Regions from separate parts of the Homo sapiens genome. Here region 1 is linked to region 2. Evidence: promoter capture Hi-C in 16 types of primary human blood cells and fetal thymus (Javierre and others, 2016). All regions are on one chromosome and are shown on one strand. The core of a region is centred on a gene start or on the middle of the fragment in contact, and the rest is flanking DNA. Distances in the headings are between cores, read along the strand shown. Region 1 overlaps MED24 (mediator complex subunit 24). Region 2 holds the start of CDC6 (cell division cycle 6).

The links. The method cuts DNA at HindIII sites, captures the fragments that hold promoters and counts their contacts. A CHiCAGO score of 5 or more calls a contact.
Region 1: a contact is called between a fragment that was not itself captured here and the fragment with the promoter of CDC6 in region 2, in 8 of 17 cell types (M0 macrophages, megakaryocytes, erythroblasts and 5 more). The highest score is 11.5, in M0 macrophages.

Annotation. Positions count from the first base shown.
Region 1 is chr17:40,027,712-40,033,659 of GRCh38, reverse strand. MED24 (mediator complex subunit 24) reads left to right here. Exons shown (of 26, transcript NM_014815.4): 7 at 204-315; 8 at 454-604; 9 at 898-1,011; 10 at 1,570-1,617; 11 at 2,040-2,122; 12 at 2,415-2,501; 13 at 3,801-3,912; 14 at 4,692-4,834; 15 at 5,714-5,751. Among named protein-coding and RNA genes, the nearest start is that of SNORD124, 3.0 kb to the right of the region's middle. The HindIII fragment of the contact is 4,950 bases long and covers 940-5,889 here.
Region 2 is chr17:40,283,743-40,289,456 of GRCh38, reverse strand. CDC6 (cell division cycle 6) reads right to left here and starts at 1,578. Exons shown (of 12, transcript NM_001254.4): 1 at 1,367-1,578; 2 at 1-49. The coding sequence starts at 36. WIPF2 (WAS/WASL interacting protein family member 2) reads right to left here. Exons shown (of 8, transcript NM_133264.5): 8 at 5,321-5,714. RefSeq lists enhancers at 963-1,032, 1,063-1,242, 1,011-1,818. The HindIII fragment of the contact is 8,752 bases long and covers 1-3,036 here.

The DNA.
Region 1 (5,948 bases), core at 2,165-4,664, 260 kb after region 2:
GGGGTTTCCAGCTCTAGGTGCCCACCCCCCTTCTGGAAACAGTGCATGCTGCCCTCAGGCCCCTCCCTCCCTGTTGTCCTCAGGGGAAGCCTTCCTGTGTGGTTTCGTGTGCCGGAGGGAGTGCCAAAATCGAGGAGTTCAGGGCCAGGTGCTCCTTCTCTCCTGTTTCCCATCATGTTTCTGTACTTCCTTCCCTCTGCCAGCTTCTTGGACTGCCATCGAGCATTCTCTCTTGAAACTTGGAGAGATCCTGGCCAATCTCAGCAACCCGCAGCTCCGGAGTCAGGCCGAGCAGTGTGGCACCCTCATTAGGAGGTACCGGCTCCCTGGGGGATGGTGGAGAAGGGAGAGGGAGGACACGCCCTGGGGTAGGAAGATGTGGCACCCGTGCCATCCTCTCCGCCTTCACCTTTGGCCCCCCAAACACCGTCCCCTGTGTTTGTGACCCCTCAGCATCCCCACGATGCTGTCTGTGCATGCGGAGCAGATGCACAAGACCGGCTTCCCCACTGTCCACGCCGTGATCCTGCTCGAGGGCACCATGAACCTGACAGGCGAGACGCAGTCCCTGGTGGAGCAGCTGACGATGGTGAAGCGCATGCAGGTGGGAGGGGCCGAGTGGCTCTCCCTTCTCCAAGGCAGGCCAGCCTGTTGGGGGCAGGAGGGAGGATTCTTCTGGTTCTCCCTGGGAGAAGTGGGGTTTCTCCTGCTCCATGATGGAAAGTGGGTGCCAGTCGTGCACACTTCTGTCATTGGACCTTACTCCCCTGGTTCTCAGCACATAGCTGAGCAGTGACTCTGCCATGCAGTCTCTGACCCAGCCAAATCCTCAGAGTCCACAGAAGGGTGACGGGGTATGGGCACCCTCTTAGGCCTCATCCTTGGCTCTTCCCACAGCATATCCCCACCCCACTTTTTGTCCTGGAGATCTGGAAAGCTTGCTTCGTGGGGCTCATTGAGTCTCCCGAGGGTACGGAGGAGCTCAAGTGGACAGCTTTCACTTTCCTCAAGGTACTGGGGACGTGGGAGGGGCAGAGCCAGTCTAGGAATGGTTCTTAGCAAGACCAGTGGCACCCTGGACCTTTGCCCTGTGTTCCTCCCTGCGGGCACTGGGCCCAGCCTGCCAGGTATTCCAGTGCAAGTTCCCATTGATCATTTTCTCTGAAAGTGCCAGGGCTATATTTAGCCCATTTGGCAGACTCCGTTGTTTCTTACCACAGAGGTGCAGTTTAGCTTGGTCATCAGACAGATAGGTGCAGGGCAGTAAAGGGAGCCAGGGAAAGGGGCCCCAGTCCTCCTTGAAGCTGGGGATCCACTTTTGCTTATGGCATCTTTTTCTGTTGAGCTAGCGGAGGTGCAGGGTGCTTGTGTCCTGTGCCTAGGCCTGGGGGCATCAGGGGCCTGGGCACCTATTGGCTTTCTCATTTAGCACTAAGTGTGCTCTCACTCCCAGGGTAGGAGTGTTCCTGTCTCTCTTCCTGGAGCAGGGGTTCGGGGGGATGCCTTCAGGGGTAGATGAAAGAGAAAAGAAATGGATCTTCCTGTTTTTCCCCCTGCCTCACCCCCTAGATTCCACAGGTTTTGGTGAAGTTGAAGAAGTACTCTCATGGAGACAAGGTGAGTTGGGGATTGAGATGGAGGCATGGGAGCAGAAATAAGGGCAAAGGGGAGGGTCCTTCAGGCCCCAGCTGGGCAGTGTTCTCATGCCTGGAAGAGAGCCGGATGTGAGTGTACACCTCAGCGTGCACGTGCTTCACAATGTGCATGCTTCAGCATGTGCGTGTGCTTCAGCATGTGCGTGTGCTTCAGTGTGTGCGTGCTTCAGTGTGTGTGTTTCAGCGTGTGTGTGCTTCAGCGTGTACGTGTGCTTCAGCCAGTGTGTGTGCTTCAGCGTCTGCGTGCACCCACAACATACACCCAGGCTCCAGGCAGAAAGCAGCCAGGCAACTCAGGCCGATGCCTCCAGCAGACAAGGTTGCCTGAGATGATCAGGGCCTGGTGGCCCTGGAAACCAGATGGACACTTCTGCCTCTTTCTAGGACTTCACTGAGGATGTCAACTGTGCTTTTGAGTTCCTGCTGAAGCTCACCCCCTTGTTGGACAAAGCTGACCAGCGCTGCAAGTATGAGCTCCCCTGGTCACCCCCGCCCTACTGGAAGGCGTTCTGGGCTCTTCCCCTGATCTCTGTGCCAGAGAAGCCTCAGGGGACTCTGTCTCCTTGTTCACTCCCCTTGGCAGGGGCAGGAAATAGGAGCCCACAGTTGCCAAGTCCCCAGAGCCCCTCTACCGTCCCTCAGGCACTCCAGATTTTCCTCATCCTGAAAGAGGGAGGATGCTGCTCAGGGACCTGCCACTCCCACCCCTCACCATCCTATCCAGGTGCCCAGTTCCCTCAGCATCTTTCTCCCTCACAGCTGTGACTGTACAAACTTCCTGCTCCAAGAATGTGGCAAGCAGGGGCTTCTGTCTGAGGCCAGCGTCAACAACCTTATGGCTAAGCGGTAAGTGTGAACGCACCTGTGCTACCCCAAGAGCCCCTTGACCTCTCTCTTGTTACGGTGGGGCTGCTGCGTGCCTTTCAACCTCCTGTCGAAAGTTTGGGCTGCAAGTGACTGGGACCGTGCCTGGGGGTACAGGGAACAGGAAGGAAAAGAAAGCACAGATGTCTTCAGACCAGAGTTTTACACTCTTAGTCACTGCTCTTTAACTCATACCCATCTTTGTGATAAAAGTAAAAATCCTAGGCTGGAGGCGGGTGGATTACTTGGAGGCCAGGAGTTCAAGACCAGCCTGCCCAACATGGCAAAACCCCATGTCTACTAAAAATACAAAAATCAGCTGGGCGTGGTGGTGTGTGCCTGTAATCTCAGCTACTCTGGAGGCTGAGGCACGAGAATTGCTTGAACCCAGGAGGCGGAGATTGTGGTGAGGCGAAATCATGCCACTGCACCCCAGCCTGGGCGATAGAGTGAGACCTTGTCTCAAAAAAAAAATAAATAAATAAATAAAAATCCTGAATCTTCCTTTAATCTTAAATGTGCTTTCAGAGCATTTAAGACTAATGATAGGCCGGCTGCGGTGGCTCACACCTGTAATCCCAGCATTTGGGAGGCCAAGGCGGGTGGATCACGAGGTCAGGAGTTTGAGACCAGCCTGGCCAACGTGGTGAAACCCCATCTCTACTAAAAATACAAAAATTAATCAGGCGCGATGGTATGCACCTGTAATTCCAGCTACTCAGGAGGCTGAGGCAGGAGAATCACTTGAACCCGGAAAGCAGAGGTTGTACTGAGCTGAGATCGCGCCACTGCATTCCAGCCTGGGTGACAGAGCGAGACTCTGTCTCAAAAAAAAAAAAGACTAATGATAAATTGCCAGGTGTGCTGGCTCACCTGTAATCCCAGGACTTTGGGAAGCCAAGGTGGGTGGATCACCTGAGGTCAGGAGTTTGAGACCAGTAGAACATGGTGAAACCCCGTCTCTACTAAAAATACAAAAAAGTAGCCAGGCGTGGTGGTGAGCGCCCAGCTACTCTGGAGGCAGAGGCTGCAGTGAGCCGAGATCGTGCCACTGTACTCCAGCCTGGGCAACAGAGTGAGACCTGTCTCAAAAAAAAAGACTAATGCTAAATCAGTGATTGCAACATTGACTATGCTTCCATAAACTTCACCCCAACCTCGGAGGTTCTTACATGCTTCCCACCTCCTCTGCGCATTTCCTTCCGGGCTTGAACGAGGGAACGTGTCAAGAATTTCTCTTCATTCCTCTTCCCTTCCTTGGCCAACTGGTGATGTCCACAGCAAAGCGGACCGAGAGCACGCACCCCAGCAGAAATCGGGAGAGAATGCCAACATCCAGCCCAACATCCAGCTGATCCTCCGGGCGGAGCCCACTGTCACAAACATCCTCAAGGTGAGTGTGCCCTTCCCTGGCCACCACAGTCTTCTCTTTCTTCTTTCCAGTGCTCCATCTGCTTGCAGATAAATAAACAGAGGCCACAGACCTCTGTCTCCTTTAGCTTTTATACATAGTTGCTTTGGAGGTAGTGAAAGGGGAGGCAAGGGCAGCTACCACTGAATGCTAACCCGTGGGAGCTTCATTTGTACACCAGGCACTGCAGTAGGCGCTTTCACTTAGGCCATCTCACATGGAAACAACAGAGACGTGGGTGCGGTGGCTCACGCCTGTAATCCCAGCATTTTGGGAGGCTGAGGTGGGAAGATCCCTTGAGGTCAGGAGTTTGAGACCAGCTTGGCCAGCGTGGTGAAACCCAGTCTCTACTAAAAACACAAAATTCACTGGGTGTGGTGGTGCATGCCTGTAATCCCAGTTACTTGGGAGGCTGAGGCAGGAGAATCGCTGAACCCTGGGGGGCAGAGGTTGCAGTGAGCCAAGATCGCACCACTGCACTCCAGCCTCAGCGATAGAGCGAGACTCTGTCTAAAAAAGGAAAGGACAGAGAAGATCCTAGCCGTGACCTTGCCCACTCCAACCTTACCACCTGCATGCCAGTGTAGATGAGAGGGATGGATCGGAGAGCAGGGGTGGGTTTTAGGAATGATTTTCCAGATTGAAGTCAGAAAGATGTAGATTACATTCCAGGTTGTGAAGAGAGAAAATGTGGCTAGGCTGTATCTTGGGTGGGGGGTCTTCAGTGTTCTTCAGGACTTGATTTCCTGTCCTGTCCCCAGACGATGGATGCAGACCACTCTAAGTCACCGGAGGGACTGCTGGGAGTCCTGGGCCACATGCTGTCCGGGAAGAGTCTGGACTTGCTGCTGGCTGCCGCCGCCGCCACTGGAAAGCTGAAATCCTTCGCCCGGAAATTCATCAAGTGAGGAAGGCCAAGCCCCTGACCCCAGGGCGTGCAGGGAGGCTGCGCGTTGGGAGGAGGTAGCAGGGTAGGAGTCAGGTGCCTGGGTCTGGGTCTCATCCAGAGACCCACGGGCCTAGGCAGAGCATCCTGGCTGGAGATCTTGGAGGAAGGGCCTGTTCTCACGACCTAAGTGTTCCTTTCTCTTCAGCTGAGGATGGAGTGGACATGTTTGGTAAAGAGATGAGGGTAAGGGTTGAGGTGTTGAACATTGGGCATGGAGGAATTCCAAGTATGCCCAGTTATTAATAAGGGGCTCTCAAATTCTGTTGCCTTTTTTGATTGCCCTGGAATTTGACATATATAGAACATGGTTCCATTCAGTGAGCCATTCTCTAGGCCTTGGAAATCTTCTAACAATAAAAATCCTTCTGGCCGGGTGCGGTGGCTCACGCCTGTAATCCTAGCACTTAGGGAGGCCAAGGTGGGCGGATCACCTGAGGTCAGGAGTTCAAGACCGGCCTGGCCAACTTGGTGAAACCCTGTCTCTACTAAAAATACAAAAAATTAGCCGGGTGTGGTGGCGGGCACCTGTAATCCCAGCTACTTGGGAGACTGAGGCAGAAGAATTGCTTGAACAGAGGCGGAGGTTGCAGTGAGCTGAGATTGTGCCACTGCACTCCAGCCTGGGTGACAGAGCGAGACTCTTTCTCAAAAAAAACAAAAAAAAAACAAAAAACAAAAACCACAAAAACCTTTTTTCTATAGCAATGTGTCTCATTTTAAGTTTAACCAGTAACTCAGACTCTAGCTATCGCTCTCTGAACATGTGTAGCCCCAGCGCCCAGCTACTGCTCAGCTCATGCCCTGGTCAATGCAGCCTGTCTCCATTCCTTTCAGTTTGAATGAATTCACAACCTATGGCAGCGAAGAAAGCAGTAAGTCAGCCCTGTGCATCCGCAGGCCCAGTGGGCCCTGAGGAGGGGTGTGGCGGGAGAGTGTGGGAGGGAGGAGGGCTCCCCAGCTCAACAGGGGGAGGCTGTGCTCCCTCCTCAGAGCCATGACCAATGGAAGCTTCCACAGAGCTTGAAAGTGGATAATGCTGGAAAAGGATTCTTCCCAGACCATCCCTGTG
Region 2 (5,714 bases), core at 329-2,828:
GATTGTAGCCTGTGCCTGGGATCGGGTTTGAGGCATGACGACAGCACAGCTAGATTAAAAAAAATAAGAGGACAACTAGTCAATATGTGAAAGTGAAGAGAAAATAACTAACATGGAATTTATTTATACTGATGATTAACACTTATTTCCTAATTATGTTATCACACTTATTTTAGCATTCACTTTTGCTTCACATCCAAATCTATGCAAGAACAGCTGACATTTGTTGTCTACCTACTACGTGGAAGGGCGCTGTTATAAACACTTTAGGTACCAACTCGTTTAACAACGATCTTAGGAGTAGGTACTATTATTAGCCTTTATTTTACACATGAGAAAACTGAGATAAACAGTGGCCCAAAGTCACAGAAAAACAGGAATGTAACCCCGGGCATCTGGTGCCAGAGCCCAAGTTCTTAACCAATTGAGCGATGCAATAACAAGTTACCTGAAATGGGCCGGGCGCGGTGGCCCACGCCTGTAATCCCAGCACTTTGGGAGGCTGAGGCGGGCGGATCACCTGAGGTCAGGAGTTCGAGACCAGCCTGACCAACATGGAGAAACCCCGTCTCTACTAAAAATACAAAAATTACGGCCAAACGCGGTGGCTCACGCCTGTAATCCCAACACTTTGGGAGGCCGAGACGGGCCGAGACCATCCTGGCTAACACGGTGAAACCCCGTCTCTACTAAAAATGCAAAAAATTAGCCGGGCGTGGTGGTGGGCGCCTGTAGTCCCAGCTACTCGGGAGGCTGAGGCAGGAGAATGGCATGAACCCGGGAGGCGGAGCTTGCAGTGAGCCGAGATCGCGCCACTGCACTCCAGCCTGGGAGACCGAGCGAGACTCCGTCTCAAAAAAAAAAAAAAAATTAGCCGGACGTGGTGGCGGGCGCCTGTAGTCCCAGCTACATGAAGAGGCTGAGGCAGGAGAATGGCTTGAACCCGGCAGGCAGAGGTTGCAGTGAGCCGAGATCGCACCACTGCACTACAGCCTGGGCGACAAGAGCGAGACTCCGTCTCAAAAAAAAAAAAAAGTTACATGAATTGATTTATATAGAACTTCTAGTTTCCTCCCTCCAGGCACGCGGGGTGTCTTTATCACCAGTTCAGCCCAGCACCCGCCACATTTAGTCTCTTCTATCCCAAGCCCTCACACTGCAGCTCAGTCTTCCCTCAGTTCTTTCCGCCCCTGCACTCAGTCCTCATTCTAGGCAGCTCTCAACGCACCCCAGAATATTTCCTTCCTACAACTTTCACCTCCTTCACACCACGCATAACTGCTAGAACTACCCCGAGGGCACCTGCCCTTTCCCTGATCCCGACCTCAGACCTCCAGCGAGCTCAGCTCTTTTCCCTTCACTTCACCTCAGGCCTCGCCGGAACCCGCAGCCTTCACCCAGCTCCGCTGCCTCACAGACCCCAGGCCTCCTCGAGCAATCCTCTTCTTTCCACCTCCTCAGTGCAGGATCCTTCTCACGTCTCTCACACGCAGCCTCTCGGACTCACCACCACAAGCCCCTGAACAAACTGCACAGCGGCAGCAGCAAACTCCAGCCGCGCTCGCGCCAAATCCGAATGGCCACAGCGTTCCCACCTCCCGCCAAAGCCCGGCCTCGATTCTGATTGGCTGTAGTCACAGAGCCTTTCGCCTTGGGCACCGCCTCTTTTTTTGCTACCAATCCAGTGGAAGAGTTACAGCCAATGAGAGAGCCCCAAGTCTTAGAGTCGCTGTGAGGCCACGACCACTGAACGGGGGAGGGAATCTACATCCGGGGCCTCGGTGGAAAGACGCGCGATTGCGGCAGGGCGACTCTGGGTAAAGCGGGCCGGCCCGCCGCAAAGCACGCTGGGAGGCGTAGTCTTTGCTGCCGCGCAGTCGCACTCTTCCTTCGACTGGAAGTGTCAAGATGTGGTTCCCCTTCTCACTGCCTAAAGTACCCATTTGCATCATCCTGATGGGCTAGATTTTCAGAACTGCTACATGATACCTACCGTTTTGGGTTCTGTGCGCCAGGTATGATGCTAGGCACTTTCCTTACCTCTCTAATGCTCAACCTCGCAAAGTACAAAGCAAACTTCTATACAAGGTTAGAGGTCACAGCATCTTGGTGACAGTGAAGAGCCTAGGATCCAGATCTCCTGATGGCTGAACTAGTGATTTTTATGGTAAAGTTCTACACACCTATATAAAGAAAAACTATGCTTCATCATAGTATCTCTTGATTTGTGCTTCAAAGGTGAGAAACAGAGCCAACTCTTTACTTTTATTTCGTTCAACCTAAGAATATTATGTTCTGTGCATCTTCTTACCATTAATCCACACATCATGGGGAGGGAATTATGACCCCTTAATTTTAAAATCTTTTATGGCGAAACACTAGGGTTTCAGGGCCAGGGAAGACAGCTATATAGAAGAGGCAAGCTGAGTTTTTAATGAAAAATATAAATTAGCGCAGTAATTTGAAGGCCAGCTTCCAAAGCCAATAATTCATCTAAGCCTCAGGTTCCTTTAGAGGCCAGAACCCAATTCTAGGTGATGGTAAACATTTATCTTTTACCCCTCAGTAACAAACAAAATAGAGCCATAAAGCCTAGAAAGAGGGAAGCAACAATATTACGATCATCAGTGAATTGGTACCTAGTTCATGAAGAGAGCCAATATTGAGTGCTTAAGTGTATGCCAGGGGCTGTGCTCAGTATTTTACCTACATCACCTTATTAATCTTCACAAGCACCCCCATGAACCTGGTGTTATTTCACTTTACAAATGAGGGAACTACAGTAGAGGGGAGTTGAGTAAACTTGCCCAAGGTCACACAACTAGTAAGTGGAAGAGCTAGAATTTGAACTCTGAACTCTGACAGAAAATCAAACTCTTGACCACTTTATCATAGGGGGATGATTAGACAGATTCAGGTTCTAAACAGGAAGAGATGGTGGAGTACATTTCGTGAAGGCTTTTTAGCAGCTGAAAACTACAAAAGTGAAGAGAATGGGCTGCCATGAATGGAGAAAGTTACCACACAATGGAAGCTTTTTTTTTTTTTATTTTTGAGACAAGTCTCATTTTATCACCCAGGCTTGAGTGCCGTGCCATGATCTCGGCTCACTGCAATCTCCACCACCTGGGTTCAAGCCATTCTCCTGCCTCAGCCTCCTGAGTAGCCGGGACTACAGGCACGCGTCACCACGCCTGGCTAATATTTGAATTTTTAGTAGAGGGGTTTCACCATGTTGGCCAGGTTGGTCTCAAACTCCTGACTTCATGATCCACCCACCTCAGCCTCCCACAGTGCTGGGATTACAGGCATGAACCACCGCTCTTGGCCACAGTGGAAGCTTTTAAAAGGACTAGATGGTATTTCTGATGTCTTAGTAGGATAGTAGAACTCAGGAAGCAACCTTCACTGTTCGTATTTTTATAACATGGGCACCTAAGAATTGCCCTTAATAACCTGAAATGGTAATGTGTGCCCAGCCAGCTGTAAGGGGTGGTTATGGTAAACAACCTAGGAAGCTATGAGTACTTAGCATGCATATTGGAACCTATGAAAACACCAGGAAATGGCTGGGTGCGGTGGCTCACGCCTGTAATCCCAGCACTTTGGGAGGCTGAGGCGGGTGGATCACGAGGTCAGGAAATCGAGACCATCCTGGCTAACACGGTGAAACCCCGTCTCTACTAAAATACAAAAAAATTAGCCAGGCGTGGTGGCGGGTGCCTATAGTCCCAGCCACTCAGAAGGCTGCGGCGGGAGAATGGTGTGAACCCGGGAGGTGGAGCTTGCAGTGAGTGGAGATCACGCCACGCCACTGCACTCCGGCCTGGGCGACAAAGCGAGACTCCGCCTCAAAAAAAAAAGAAAAGAAGACACTAGGAAACATAGCAGTGGCCCAAGAAAAGCCTACAGGTGTAAATGACCACTGTGGAAGCAGGCAAATAATCACAGAATGTCAGGACTGAAAGGTTATCTACTTGAAGCTTTTCCTTTGCACTAATAATGATCCTCCAGTAACGTGATGCGTACACATCATATTGTTTCTTGCTTCTGTGCCTTTGTTTTTGCTGTTTCCTCTGTCTGGAATGCCACTAACCATCCATCTTCCCTGGCTAACTCCCATAAAGCCTTTTAATATCCTGCATAGGTTTCTCCTGGTAGCTATCCTGAAGTCTACTAAACTATGAGTTCCTTGGAGTCAAAGACCATGTCTTAGCCTTGCACAGTGGCATGCATCTGTAATTCCAGCTACTCGGGAGGCTGAGGTGGGAGGATCCCTTGAGCCCAGTTTGAGGACAGCCTGGACAACATAGGGAGACCCATTTCCAAGTTGGAAAAAAAAAAAAAAGACTTTTTATTTGGAGTCTCGCTCTGTCGCCCAGGCTGGAGTGCAGTGGCACAATCTCAGCTCACTGCAACCTCCACCCAACCGGGTTCAAGCAACTCTCCTGCCTCAGCCTCCTGAGTAGCTGGGATTACAGGCGCCCATAATTTTAGTAGACGGGGTTTCACCATATTGGACAGACTGGTCTCAAACTCCTGACCTCAGGTGATCCACCTGCCTCAGCCTCCCAAAGTGCTGGGATTACAGGCGTGAGCCACCGCGCCCGGCAAAAACAGACTTTTCATCTTCATATTGTAGATGCCTGGTACAGAGTAAAGTGTACAATAAGAGCTTGCTGAATGAAGGAATGGAAAGGACATTCTTGCCAAGTGGACATCCACCCTTTGCATAAACACTTGTGGCTGGAGAGCATACAGTCTTTTAAGTCTCACACCCCTAAGCCTAGGAATGGAGAATGAATTCAATTATGTGTGAAAATGATCCAGACTGGGCTCCAGTGATGTCAGAGGCAAAGCATTTCCCCAGTTGTCCTCTGGGGCAGTCAGAATCCTGAGGCTGACATATTTCTAGTTCTAATTCATTTTCCATAGTTCCTTTACCTCTCTTTGCAGAGTACTAGGAAGTTGGAGACAGGCAGCTTTCTTCCAGTGGGTCGTTTAGTTCATGGTTAGATTGGGTTGGGAAATACTTAAGAGGTACATTCATGGCAAGCAGCTCTGCCTCAGTAATGGAAGGAAAACTAGTGTCCTTATCACCTGCTAACTCATACACAGTATCATGGAGAAGGAATCAAATCACACTGGAAGAACCTGTCTGGCATCCTTTTGTGTGACTGTGTGTGTAGACACACACACACACACACACACACACACTAGCAATACCATCACAAGAAGACAGAATGAATTATAGGGTTAGGAAGTCGAAGGTCATTTAGGCAAGCTCCATTTGCAGGCTATTTCAAGTCAGGAGGAACAATTCAATCAATAAATAGGTAGTTTATTAACCATATTAATAACAATGATGGGTCAAATAATCGGAGATTCAGCCCATCTGGGAAGTACGGATGAAAATGAAAGGAGTCCTTTTTTTTCTTCCCCTCCCTCCCTCATCCTCATAGGTTTTTATATCTAAATTATGTGAGAGTGATTCATACACACACCCATTATGAATCAGTAAGAGAAATAACTTCAAGACCTTTGCTAGTGATGAAAGTGCAAGTTAAGCTCATTAAGCCTTAGTGGTTATGATGTCAGCTGACCACAGTAAGGAGAGAATGTCTGGTTGAATTTTTACACCTAAAGTCAAAGTTCAAGAAAACCAGCTAAGATTCAGCTTAAAAAGCAGTGACGAAAAACAGCCAACACCCACA